Regions from separate parts of the Homo sapiens genome. Here region 1 is linked to region 2. The links are contacts of gene promoters, found by promoter capture Hi-C in human tissues and cell types (Jung and others, 2019). All regions are on one chromosome and are shown on one strand. Each heading gives the region's core, a stretch centred on a gene start or on the middle of the fragment in contact. The rest is flanking DNA. Distances are from core to core; before and after follow the strand shown.

Evidence for each region. The method cuts DNA at HindIII sites, captures the fragments that hold promoters and counts their contacts. A contact is called where the count stands out against the background at its distance.
Region 1: a fragment that was not itself captured here is called in contact with the fragment with the promoter of PPARD in region 2 in 2 of the 25 tissues and cell types used here (liver and spleen).

What each region holds. Positions count from the first base shown.
Region 1 is chr6:35,242,372-35,248,629 of GRCh38, forward strand. It overlaps SCUBE3 (signal peptide, CUB domain and EGF like domain containing 3), which reads left to right. Exons shown (of 22, transcript NM_152753.4): 14 at 251-409; 15 at 650-865; 16 at 1,223-1,384; 17 at 1,592-1,759; 18 at 2,279-2,440; 19 at 2,857-3,054; 20 at 3,573-3,725; 21 at 3,835-3,914; 22 at 6,185-6,258. It overlaps SCUBE3-AS1 (SCUBE3 antisense RNA 1), which reads right to left. Exons shown (of 4, transcript XR_001744102.2): 2 at 3,818-3,888; 3 at 1,977-2,059. Among named protein-coding and RNA genes, the nearest start is that of SCUBE3-AS1, 14 kb to the right of the region's middle. RefSeq lists enhancers at 921-2,120, 5,421-5,860. The HindIII fragment of the contact is 7,267 bases long and covers 1-5,036 here.
Region 2 is chr6:35,341,308-35,347,445 of GRCh38, forward strand. It overlaps PPARD (peroxisome proliferator activated receptor delta), which reads left to right and starts at 1,251. Exons shown (of 8, transcript NM_006238.5): 1 at 1,251-1,374; 2 at 5,760-5,843. RefSeq lists silencers at 1,103-1,312, 1,493-1,632, 1,663-1,712. The HindIII fragment of the contact is 18,171 bases long and covers 1-6,138 here.

The DNA of each region.
Region 1 (6,258 bases), core at 153-2,652, 99 kb before region 2:
TTACCCCTCAGCTCCTCTGCTTCCAAAAACCCACCAGAACCCTGAACTCTAGGCAGAGCAGAGGAAAAAGCAGCTGTAGGCATAGCACCCAAGGAAGTCCCAGAATATTCCCCTCCACCAACTAATTAGGACCCTAGACTAAAACAGGATTGAGAGATAGTTACAGTTAGAGATCTGGGGAGGTCTGTCTGGGCTGGGAGTGAGAACTTTCCAGGGGATGTCCCTGGGGTTGACAAGCCCTCTCTCCCAGGTGGTGCCCCCTGCTCTGAATGCCAGGTCACCTTCATCCACCTTAAGTGTGACTCCTCTCGGAAGGGCAAGGGCCGACGGGCCCGGACCCCTCCAGGCAAAGAGGTCACAAGGCTCACCCTGGAACTGGAGGCAGAGGTCAGAGCCGAAGAAACCACAGGTGGGACTGGGGGCACTGTTGGGAAGAGGACTGGAAGGGGAGGGCAGAGGTGGGGAAACCACAGGTCTCAGCAGCAAAAGGAAGGGATGGAGCCTGTACTAGGGGCAGACCCTGCCTGGTGCCAAGCCTAAAAGCTAGTCCCTCTTACCATGCCCCTCCTAGCTCCCAGCTTTGCTCCCCTGCCCTCCTGCTCACAGCAACTCTTTCTCCTCCCTGATACACACGGCCATCCACCACCAGCCAGCTGTGGGCTGCCCTGCCTCCGACAGCGAATGGAACGGCGGCTGAAAGGATCCCTGAAGATGCTCAGAAAGTCCATCAACCAGGACCGCTTCCTGCTGCGCCTGGCAGGCCTTGATTATGAGCTGGCCCACAAGCCGGGCCTGGTAGCCGGGGAGCGAGCAGAGCCGATGGAGTCCTGTAGGCCCGGGCAGCACCGTGCTGGGACCAAGTGTGGTAAGGGAGCTTACTGGGGAGCAGGGATGTAGGAAAGACCCAGTTTGGGCCTGACTCAGAGCAGGACCCTTTGTGGCCTCAGATGCATTTCTCAAATTATGAGGCAGCCAGGATGCTCCTGCCCGCTGTCCTCCCTTCCTTGGTTCCAGGCTGAAATCTAGAAGGATGCCAGGTGGGGCCAGCAATCCTCCTGCACACGGTTTTGACCCTCCTATCCCCCCAAGTAGGATTGTGTTTGTTCCCTGACAGAGATTCTCCCTGAATCGGGGGTTGTGGCGGGGAGTGGGAAGGGGAGTCCCAGGCCTGGGTGGTGGGAAATGCGGGGGTGGGTGGCTAGCGCGGCCGACTCTCCCTCAGTCAGCTGCCCGCAGGGAACGTATTACCACGGCCAGACGGAGCAGTGTGTGCCATGCCCAGCGGGCACCTTCCAGGAGAGAGAAGGGCAGCTCTCCTGCGACCTTTGCCCTGGGAGTGATGCCCACGGGCCTCTTGGAGCCACCAACGTCACCACGTGTGCAGGTGCCAGGGGAACAAACAATACAGAGTGGGGTAGGGTGGGCACTGGGATGCCCATGGGCATGGGATTTCCCAAAGGGCAGGCCCAGGCTCCAGGCCACTCTCTTAGTCAACATCCTGTTTGTATACCTTTGTCCCCTGAGATCGGGTGACCCCATGGGGATGACTCAGGACCATCCCCATCAGAGTTGGGCCCTTGATTCATTGCAGGTCAGTGCCCACCTGGCCAACACTCTGTAGATGGGTTCAAGCCCTGTCAGCCATGCCCACGTGGCACCTACCAACCTGAAGCAGGACGGACCCTATGCTTCCCTTGTGGTGGGGGCCTCACCACCAAGCATGAAGGGGCCATTTCCTTCCAAGACTGTGACACCAAAGGTGAGTAAGCTACTCACCTCCCTGGGGGATGCCCCAACCCCAACTACTCCCAAAAAACTCTCCAATTTCCCAGAGGGGACACTGACCCACCATTTTCTCCAAACCAGTAATGGGCCCAGCTACTTGACCAACCATACCATCCTGCTTCCAGGACCCACCCTGCCCCTCCACTAGTCCCAAGCTTGGGAACTGAGAAATAATTAACAGTCCCACTTACCCCTCCACTTTGGAGAACTGGTGGCATATTCTCCTCCATATCCCAAATGAGTTTCTATATAGGTTTGGCACTGTGCTCAGCGTCTGAAAGAAAAGGATTGGCACTGTAGCCAACCACTCTGTAAACTCTGTTTTTCCGTGGGCTTAAATTCTGGCATGACTGGGAAAGATTGAGACCCTAGAAAAGAACTTTGATGTATCTGATCTCCTGATTCTCCAGGATGAATGTATCCTGTCCATCCCATGCCCCGTAACTCCCACCTGCCTACCATCTTGATTCCTGCCCTTCTCCCTTGCCTACAGTCCAGTGCTCCCCAGGGCACTACTACAACACCAGCATCCACCGCTGTATTCGCTGTGCCATGGGCTCCTATCAGCCCGACTTCCGTCAGAACTTCTGCAGCCGCTGTCCAGGAAACACAAGCACAGACTTTGATGGCTCTACCAGTGTGGCCCAATGCAAGAGTACGTGGCAAGCCAGGCTGTGCAAAAGGGAGGAGAGAGGCCTGGGAGCAGTGGACATCTAAAGGAGGGGTGTGAAACCAACAGGGAGCAGGGCTGGGGGGTGGAGGAGCAGGAAAACTCCACCTTCCACCTCTCCCCAACTCACTCAATCTCAAGGCCAGTTGCTAGGCTGGACCCTGTAACACCCTCTCCCTGGAGACAGTTAATGAGGAAGCAGAGACAGGTGAAGTGAGAAGAGAAGGTACTAAAAGGGCAGGAAGGAAGATGGACTCAGAGCTTGGAAAATAATGATGAACTAGAACGCAGACTTCCCATAAATGTCTGACCTCTACTTCAGAACTCTTCAATTCCCCCAGCACACTTCCCCACTGACTTCCCTTCTCTGTCTTGTTTTATCCACTGGGGTTTGGCTGCAGATCGTCAGTGTGGTGGGGAGCTGGGTGAGTTCACTGGCTATATTGAGTCCCCCAACTACCCGGGCAACTACCCAGCTGGTGTGGAGTGCATCTGGAACATCAACCCCCCACCCAAGCGCAAGATCCTTATCGTGGTACCAGAGATCTTCCTGCCATCTGAGGATGAGTGTGGGGACGTCCTCGTCATGAGAAAGAACTGTGGGTGGCTTGCAGAGCTGGGCCAGGGAAGGGCAGTCCAAATCTGGTTAAGGCGGAGAACAAAGAGAGAGACTGATACAGGAAGAAATGGGGCAGTGAAGTTAGGGATCTATGAGGGTGAAATAGTGAGAGGCCTTTAGGAAGAGAGAAGCTAACAAAGGAAAACAGCAATGACACATGTTTGGTAGAAAACAGAGTTAAGAAAGCTAGCAGTGGGGCTAGAACTCCAATGGCGTTACATGTATCACTTTCCTATCCTAGCATTTTTGCCATTCCATTCATTTAAATGTCATATTTATTACACTATGTGAGTGCCCAGGTATCAAGGAGGAATTGTGGAATGAGCCCAGTGGGCAATGGGAGAGGGTGTGGGGTAGGGTGTGTGTATGCGAAGGGGGAGCCTTTGTCAGAATGATTCTCTTGCCCTATACCCCCACCACCAGCTGTACAGCCCACGTTCTAGGAGGGCTTGGGTAGCCTGCCCTGCTGCTCTACTGACCTGCTGCTTGCCTTCCCAGCATCCCCATCCTCCATTACCACTTATGAGACCTGCCAGACCTACGAGCGTCCCATTGCCTTCACTGCCCGTTCCAGGAAGCTCTGGATCAACTTCAAGACAAGCGAGGCCAACAGCGCCCGTGGCTTCCAGATTCCCTATGTTACCTATGATGGTAAGCCAAGGAGGTGGGTGAGAAGGGGAGGTATGTCAGTTTTGAGAGGGAACCAGGAGAGCAGGAAGAGCTCCCGCCCCTGAGCCCCTCACCTTGGTTGACTTTGCAGAGGACTATGAGCAGCTGGTAGAAGACATTGTGCGAGATGGCCGGCTCTATGCCTCTGAAAACCACCAGGAGATTTTAAAGGTGAATGAATATTAACAATAATGATAGCTAACATTTAATAAGCATGTAACAATATATAGGCAATAGGCTAAGTGCTTACATGAATATTCTCACTTGATAGACACAATAGCTCTATGAGGTAGGTGCTTTCTCCATTGCTTCTTTACAGATGGGAAAACTGGGGTATAGAGAGTTAAAGAACCTGCCCCATGGGAAGCTGGGATTTGAGCCCAAGCCTATCCGACTGCAGCGTCACCCACACTATATTACACCTTGGGGAAAACTTGGAAGAGAAAGGGAAAGTGAGGAGAAGAAATGTCCCTACCTCTTCCAAGAGACATAGGGAAAGTGAAGTATAGAAAGATACTTTTGCATAAGTCCCTTCCTTCCCCTATTCTCTCCCCAGGCCTCATTAAGCAGCAGCAGATAGGCTGCGTGTGGTGGTTCACGCCTGTCATCCCAGCACTTTGGGAGGCCGAGGCGGGTGGATCACATGAGGTCAGGAGTTTGAGACCAGCCTGGCCAACATGGTGAAACCTCGTCTTAATTTTGTAAAAATACAAAATTATCCGGGTGCGGTGGCAGGCGCCTGTAATCCCAGCTACTCAGGAGGCTGAGGCAGGAGAATTGCTTGAACTCAGGAGGCGCAGGTTGCAGTGAGCCGAGATGGCGCCATCGCACTCCAGCCTGGGTGACAAGAGTGAACCCTGTCTCAAAAAAACAAAAACAAAAAAAGCAGCGGCAGATCTAGCACAGCTTTCTCAGAATCAATTTATGTACAGACTTCTTTTCAAGGAAAATAAATACTTCCAACATGGAAGAATGGACTAGATGCCCTGGGTCGGTGAATCCCAATTTAAGAAAATCTTCCTTAAGAAACTATAGTCTGGCTGCGCATGGTGGATCATGCCTGTAATCCCAGCACTTTGGGGGGCTGAGGCGGGTGGATCGCCTGAGGTCAGGAGTTCCAGACCAGCCTGGCCAACATAGTGAAACCCCGTCTTTACTAAAAAAATACAAAAAATTAGCTGGGTGTGGTGGCGGGCGCCTGCAATCCCAGCTACTCGGGACCCTGAGGCAGGAGAATTGCTTGGACCGGGGAGGCAGAGGTTGCAGTGAGCTGATATCATGCCATTGCACTCCAGCCTGGGCAACAAGAGTTAGACTCAGTCTCAAAAAAAAAAAAAAAAGGAAACTATAGTCGTAGTCATAGAATTATCCTTCATAAATTATCACTGCAAAAAAGTTAAGTGTTAGCAAAATATTTTTATATTATCATCAAAATAAAAGCCTTGACAACAAAAATCACCTAGAACTTGCAGACTTCAAAGAATATACTTTTAATAATACTTTTCAAACATTTTTAAAGCATCTGAACCCTTATTTCAAATCAAATGTACTGTGGAATTCCAACACATAAAGCAGTGCAGCTGTTCTGATTAAAGTGGGGTAAGAGGCTGAAACCCCTACTTCTTATTTGAAAAATCCACTGACGCCATGGAAGGAGCACCAGCCTAGGAGCCAGAAGACCTGAGTTTTAATGCACAGTGCCTGGCACCTAGTAGGCTCTCCACATACCATGCTACTGTTGTAGACAGGGTGGTCAGGAAAGGCCTCTAAGGAGAAGAGACCCAAATGAGGTAAAAGGGCTCCCCATTAGAAGATGAGGGAGGAGCATTCCAAGCTAAGGAGCATGGGAGCAATTTAGTGTGTTCAGGAACCTCCAGAAGGCCAGTGTGGCTCAGCAGAGGGAGCAAGAGTGGAGGTGGAAAGCAAGATACAGATCACATTCTGCCAATGAGTGATAAAAGAAACCAGAGAAGAGTTTCAAACAGGAAAAAGATGAACTAATTAAAAACACAAAAAGTCACTCTGGCTGCTGTGGGGAGAAGAGTCTACGGAGGGACAAAGGTAGCATGGAGACCAGTTAGGAGGCTACTACAGTACTCCAAGTCAGAGACAGTGGTGGCTTGGGAAGATGATAAGTGGTCAGACCCAGACATATTTTGAAGGTAGAGTCAATAGGATTTGCTATACTTGTAAGCAAGAAAGAGGATTCAAGGATGGCTCCAAGGATTGGGGCCTAAGCAACAGAAGGATGGAGCTGCCACTGATTCAGTTGTGGAATTCCAGAATAAGGGCAGATGGTGGGAATGGGAATCCAGAGTTGCCCTCTGGATATATTCAGTATAGGATGCCTAGTAGACATCAAGAAGGGCTGCTGAGTCATGGTGTTTCTCTTTCCCACCCCCGACGGTGAGGCTGACATTGCTCCCTGCCATCCTTTGCAGGACAAGAAGCTCATCAAGGCCTTCTTTGAGGTGCTAGCCCACCCCCAGAACTACTTCAAGTACACAGAGAAACA
Region 2 (6,138 bases), core at 1-2,500:
GGAGGTTGACATCTAAGTTACAAATATAATGCACAAGCATTTCAAAAAGTAGGGGAAAAAAAAGAAAAAGAAAAAGAGAAGCAGAAAGAAGGGGGAAAAAATCACTCATCCCTGCCAGGCACGGTGGCTCACGCCTGTAATTCCAGCACTTTGGGAGGCTAAGGTGGGAGGATAACTTGAGTCCAGGAGTTCAAGACCAGCCTGGGCAACATGGCAAAACCCTGTCTCTACTAAAATTACAATAATTAGCTGGGCGTGTGGCGCATGCCTGTAATCCCAGCTACTTGGGAGGTTGAGGCAGGATAATCGCTTGAACCCGGGAGGCGGAGGTTGCAGCGGGCTGAGATTGCGCAACTGCACTCCAGCAGGGGCGACAGAGTGAAACTGTGTCTCAAAAAAAAAAAAAAAAAAAAAAATCACTCATCCAGATAGCTAGGTGTGGCCTAAGGAGCTTGCGGCCTACGGAAGGTGTGGCCGAAGGAGAGGGGAGGGGTCATCTTTAATGATGATGGAGGGGAGGCATTGGTCATATACCTGAGAGTCAAGCTTTGTTCATCGTCAGATGAAAGCCAACTTCTTCCACCAGATTGCCTCCCAGCTGCTAGGTAGTTTCCTGTGGTACATCTTAAGCGGTAGGTTGGGATAATAGGTCCCTTCCAGGTCTTAAAGATGTGGATTAATAAGAACAGAATTTTCTACAACAATAAGGAGGATGTCCCCTATTTTAGGTGAATAAGCGTATTGCATAAGCACATGGGAAGAAAGGTTAAGAACTCTAAGACCGTAAATTTCCAGTTGTAGAAGCCTCTTGAAGGCGGAAAGCCCTTTTTTGAAAATTATAGGCGATATGATCTCCTCCAGTGGACCTAGCACTGGGTTAAGAGTCTCTCCAGACTTGTCACTGCAAGTCACGTACCTTTTCTAGGACTAAGTTTCTTCACTGGAAGATGAGGAGGTTGCACTAGATGACCTAGAAATTCCCTTCCAGCTTTAAATTCCCTCTTGTGTCACTTGCTGGACTTGTTCTACTGGACCTGGCGCTCCCCTGCTCCTCCCTTAGCTGCTACGTCCGCATCCCGCACCAGAGGGCGCCACAGGCTGGCCCGGGGCAGCGTGCGGTGGGCGGAGAGGCAGAATTAGGGGAGTCTCCAGGAGGCGTGGTGATTGGCCGCCGCCGGGCGGAAGGGGGCGTGGGGAGGGAAAGGCCGAGCAGCGCGGTGACGTCTCGCTGGCGGGGGCGGGGCCGGGCCGCGGAGCGTGTGACGCTGCGGCCGCCGCGGACCTGGGGATTAATGGGAAAAGTTTTGGCAGGAGCGGGAGAATTCTGCGGAGCCTGCGGGACGGCGGCGGTGGCGCCGTAGGCAGCCGGGACAGGTCAGTCCGAGACGAGAGAAGCGGTCAGGCAAGTGGCGGAGGGAAGCGCCGGGCCTGGGCCGAGGCGGCCAGCGGGACTGGGGCGCAAGGCCCGGCGGCGGGGAACGGGGTGCGGGGAGCTGCCGGGGTCCGCGGACAGCGTCACGGCGGCTTCCTGATGCTCCGGCCCGCTCCGGTCAGCCGTCGTGCGTTGCCATGTAGGCGCCCCGCTGACCCTGCGCCCCCCCGCCCTTGGACCCCCATAGCTGCTTGAGTGAGTCCGAAATACGGGCCTCCTTCCACCCTACTCTTTGCCCCCTCTTGGGCCTGGTGGCTTCGTCTTCTCCCACTTGTGAGAACCCCGTCTCAGGCCCGGGGGCCTCTCCCATTCCCCTCCCCTGCCTCTGACCTCTTCCTTCACCCGTTTCTGGTGTTCCTGAATCCACTGCCCTATCTAGCGAGAGTCTTCTCTGGGATCTTTTCCTCTGTCCCCCTCGTTATCCTTGTCTCCTGCCTTCATCCTCCCATCCTTGCTCTCTCAGGCTTTACTCTCTCTCCCCATCCCTGTCCCCTTCTTATCTGTGGTCTGATCCCTCCTAGTATTATGGGTCCCCATCCTCTTCCCCAGGGTGTTCCTAGGCTTTTTCCAACTCCGTGCCTGCAGTCCCTGTCTCCCTAAGACTCTCACCTTGGTTCCCTGAGAGGCCCTGTTTTTGCTCCTTTTTCCGATTTCCTTCGTATCAATTCTGTCCCCTACATTCCTGTCGCCCACCTCCTTTTCTCTCCCTGTTCCTTTCCCCTGCTTCAGGGAGAAGCCTTAGCTCCACACTCTACTCTACTTTCACTTGACCTGCAGTTGACATAACCATGGGGTGGGGGTGGAGGTGTTCAGACCTTGATCGAATTAAGAGGCTGATTGACTAAAGGAAATAACAGATTGTGTGGGAGAATGTACGTGGGTGTTGCATCAGAGATGATGTCCAATTTGTAGGCCATTCTTCTTATCTCAGCTTTAATACTTCCCCTTTATGGGGCTGTTGACTTCCAGGAACCCTTGGGGGAGACGGCGCTGAGCTGGATGTGTGCCACGGGTAGCCGGAGGCTTTGTCCAATTCTTTTCCCCTTCCAGGAACCGGGGTTTTGTGTCTTTCCACTCTGGATGTGTGGAATACACTTATACCATGATACCCCAGCCTCTCTCTGCCCTCACTCCCACCCTCCACCCTGTGCTCCATCCGAAAGGACTAAGAGAATTCTCCAGAAGCTGTGCTCCAGAAAATACTTGTGGTCCTCAACCTTTTTTCTGTGTACTGGCTCCAGAACTTTTTTTTTTCCCGTTTGAGTTTTGAAATAGATTGCTGGCCTGATAGCCCTGGGGCTGGCGGGCATCTGTCCCCTTTTATTATTGGTGGCTTGAAACAGCTGCTGATTTTCTCTCATATCTCTTTGACAATCTTTGGCCAACTGAATGTGCCTCTGATGTTGGTCACTGAACATGTTCTCTTGGAGTCTCTTCTCCCTCTTTTTTCTTTGTTCTTTTCTGAATCTAGGGAATCCAAATTGTCCCTCTTTTTCCCTGGGAGCTTAATTTCCTCTGTATCCAGGAGGAACGGCAATCCCAGAGCTCTGTTCCCTTTGCCCAGGCATAGTATGAGGTATCAGATTGATAACTACCCTGGTGGGCTGTGGGGCTGCAGTAGTTAGACCTTGTCAGGAACTTGAGCAGACACATCTGCTTCCAGTCACATAGATCATCTTCTCTGGGGCTTGAGAGCCCACCACCTTCCATGTGTGTCTGGATGTTTAACCTTACCAAGCAGAAGATTCTCGTCATATCCTTCAGTTTGAGCTCCTTTATTTGGCGTTGGTTCTCTAAAGAAGTATTCAAGAAATAACATATCCTTTGTTTCTACCCAGTCTGATCTTGGAGGATTCTGAAAGCGTGACCCACTCTCATGTTTAGAAATGAAGGCTCATTGTTTCACCTGGCCCCAGGTTTCTAGGGGCTCCTCTTTTGATGATTGTGCTGTCTTTGAGCCAGATTGGACATGGGAGTTGGCAACCTTTAGGAGCTGCGGTGGAGAGCCAAAGGAACCAGCTTGACCAGACTTTAAAGTTTTGTAATCCTCTTGTACACTGTTTTCTGTGAAAGCAATAGGATTGTGGATGGCCTGTTGTTGAGCCAGTCCCTTCTCCACTGACCCCCAGACCCCCTTTGCAGCACTTGCAAAGATTTGGGTAGACTGGACCAGAGGGTTTTCCTTGTTCCTGTGAATAGCATCTCTCCAGGGTTTTAGTGGATCATTCTAAAGAGGTAGAGGTCAAGTGTTGGACAGATTTTTAGTCTAGTCTCTGGCTTTCAAGGACTCCTCCTTACTCTTTTGAGCAGTTTGTTACTTCTGGCCGTGCTTACCCCTTAGTAGTGCTCTCTGCTGTGGTGGCAGGTGAGAGATTTGAGAACAGGTCAAGGCCAGTCCTTGTGGAGCAGCTTGGGCACCAGCAGCCCTAGATGGATAGCTTCTTGCAGTTTGTCCACTCTCATTTTCTGAGAAGGTAGTCATGATTGTCAATTACCAAATTCCTTCCCCATTCAGTGATTTTTGCAGAGTCTGGGTCTGGATTTTCTTTCCTTCTTTCTTTTCTGACACAAGGTTTTGTTCTATTGCCCAGGCTGGAGTGCAGTGGTGCTATCATAGTGCACTGTAACCTCGAACTCCTGGGCTCAAGGGATCTTCCTGCTTCAGCCTCCAGAGTAGCGGGGACTACAGGTGCACACCACCACACTCAGCTAATTAAAAAACAATTTTTTTGTAAAGACAGGCTCTCACAATGTCTCGAACTCCTGGCCTCAAGCAGTCCTCCTCACCTTGGCCTCTCAGAGCACTGAGATTACACTGACTGCTCGTTCAGGTGCCTTTCTCCTTGCCTCTTCACCATGGCCTTCTTGTGTGATATATGCCTTAACCCATTCAGGAAGAATTGCTCCTACTCAGCCTTTCAACCCGACCTGTGGTCCCTTAGACGCCTTCCCTTAGGGCCTGGTAAGAGGATAGACAGTGTAGAGCACTAGCCTGGGAAGCCATTAGGCCTCTGCTTTGGGCCTACAGCTGTCCTGACTGTTGTGCAAGCTGTCTTCAGGGCCTGCAGATTCTGGCACATCCTGGGATAGTGCAGCTCCTCTCTCTCAGGAGTTGGACCTGTCACTTTTTTTTCGTTTTTTTTTTTTTTTTTTTTGAGATGGAGTCTCGCTCTGTCGCCCAGGCTGGAGTGCAGTGGTGCGATCTTGGCTCACTGCAAGCTCCATCTCCCAGGTTCACGCCATTCTTCTGCCTCAGCCTCCTGAGTAGCTGGGACTACAGGCGCCCGCCACCACGCCTGGCTCATTTTTTTTTGTAGTTTTAGTAGAGACAGGGTTTCACCGTGTTAGTCGAGATGGTCTCGATTTCCTGACCTCGTGATCTGCCCGCCTCAGCCTCCCAAAGTGCTGGGATTACAGGCGTGAGCCACCACAACCAGCCTGGACCTGTCACTTCTAAGGGCTTCAGCTATATCCTGTCCCTGAGGCCCACCTCCCTGAGTGCTCTCTGCAGGCTGGGAAGCTGAACAGTGGTGCCTTGCTCCAGTGCCTCTGAAGGGCTTGGAAATTGCAGGACACAGCTTTACTGCTCAGCATTGCCCACACTGGAAACATTCTCTTCCTCCCTACCCAGGTCTCTGTGGGCTTTGTCCGTTCTGCCAGGCCCTTGCTTATATGATGTCAGAAGCCCTGTGCCCGGTGCCATTGTCAATGCCATGTCCCAGATTACCTAATGGCTGCTTCTTGGAGATGGTTTGGTGTCCATGCACATTTTTCTCTGCCGTTGGAGCCAGGGTGAGGAGCTGCTTGCAACAGCTGGATTCCAGGGTGTCAGAGGAGCCCTTGGAGCTTGCCTTGAGCCTGGCAGGGAGAACATGGCCCCTTGCATCAGGTTTCAGACATATGGGTCTTCTTCCTTGGCAGATGGCTCCTAGCCTTCATAACTCAGCAGGCTGGTGATTGGCATGTGACTCCAGTTCATTCTGCAGGGGCTTTGGTGAAGGCATCAACTATGACTCAGGACATCTTCATTTATGAGCTTCTACCCAGCTCCCTTCTTACCTTGCCTGCGCCTTCTGCGCCGACCTGATAAAATCAGCAAAGCCAGTGTCTGCTTACTTGGGAGTGAGCAGACTCCTTCCAGGATTGGGGAAATATTTGCTGACTCAGGCTCAGAATCACATCTCAGGGTGGTGTGTAAGGGACCGACGAGGAGCCAGATTACCTTAGGAACACTCTTTGAGTTACGGTGGGTATAACTTATTAGAGTTGCTTTGAGGGCCCCTGGCACCTGTCAGCTAAAGCTGTTGGGGTTTTTTCTATCCTGCAGTGTTGTACAGTGTTTTGGGCATGCACGTGATACTCACACAGTGGCTTCTGCTCACCAACAGATGAAGACAGATGCACCAACGAGGTAATCCCATTTTCTTTACTCAGGGGTCTCTGACCACCACTGACACAGGATCCAGATTTAAGATCCTGACCTTGAAGATGAAATAATTTCACTAGGGCTTATTCCCAGATTCCAGGTTCCTGTCACAGCATCTGGTACCAGTTGCTTATGCATAGTATAGGCATTTATTAAGTAATTATTGAAAGTCTATGGCTTACATAGTTTTTTCAGGAGCATGGAGATTCCCACCTTTGCGCCCATTAAAAGATAAACTCCACAGGGCAGGGAGTTGTTTTGCTGCCTGTTGTGTCTAGGA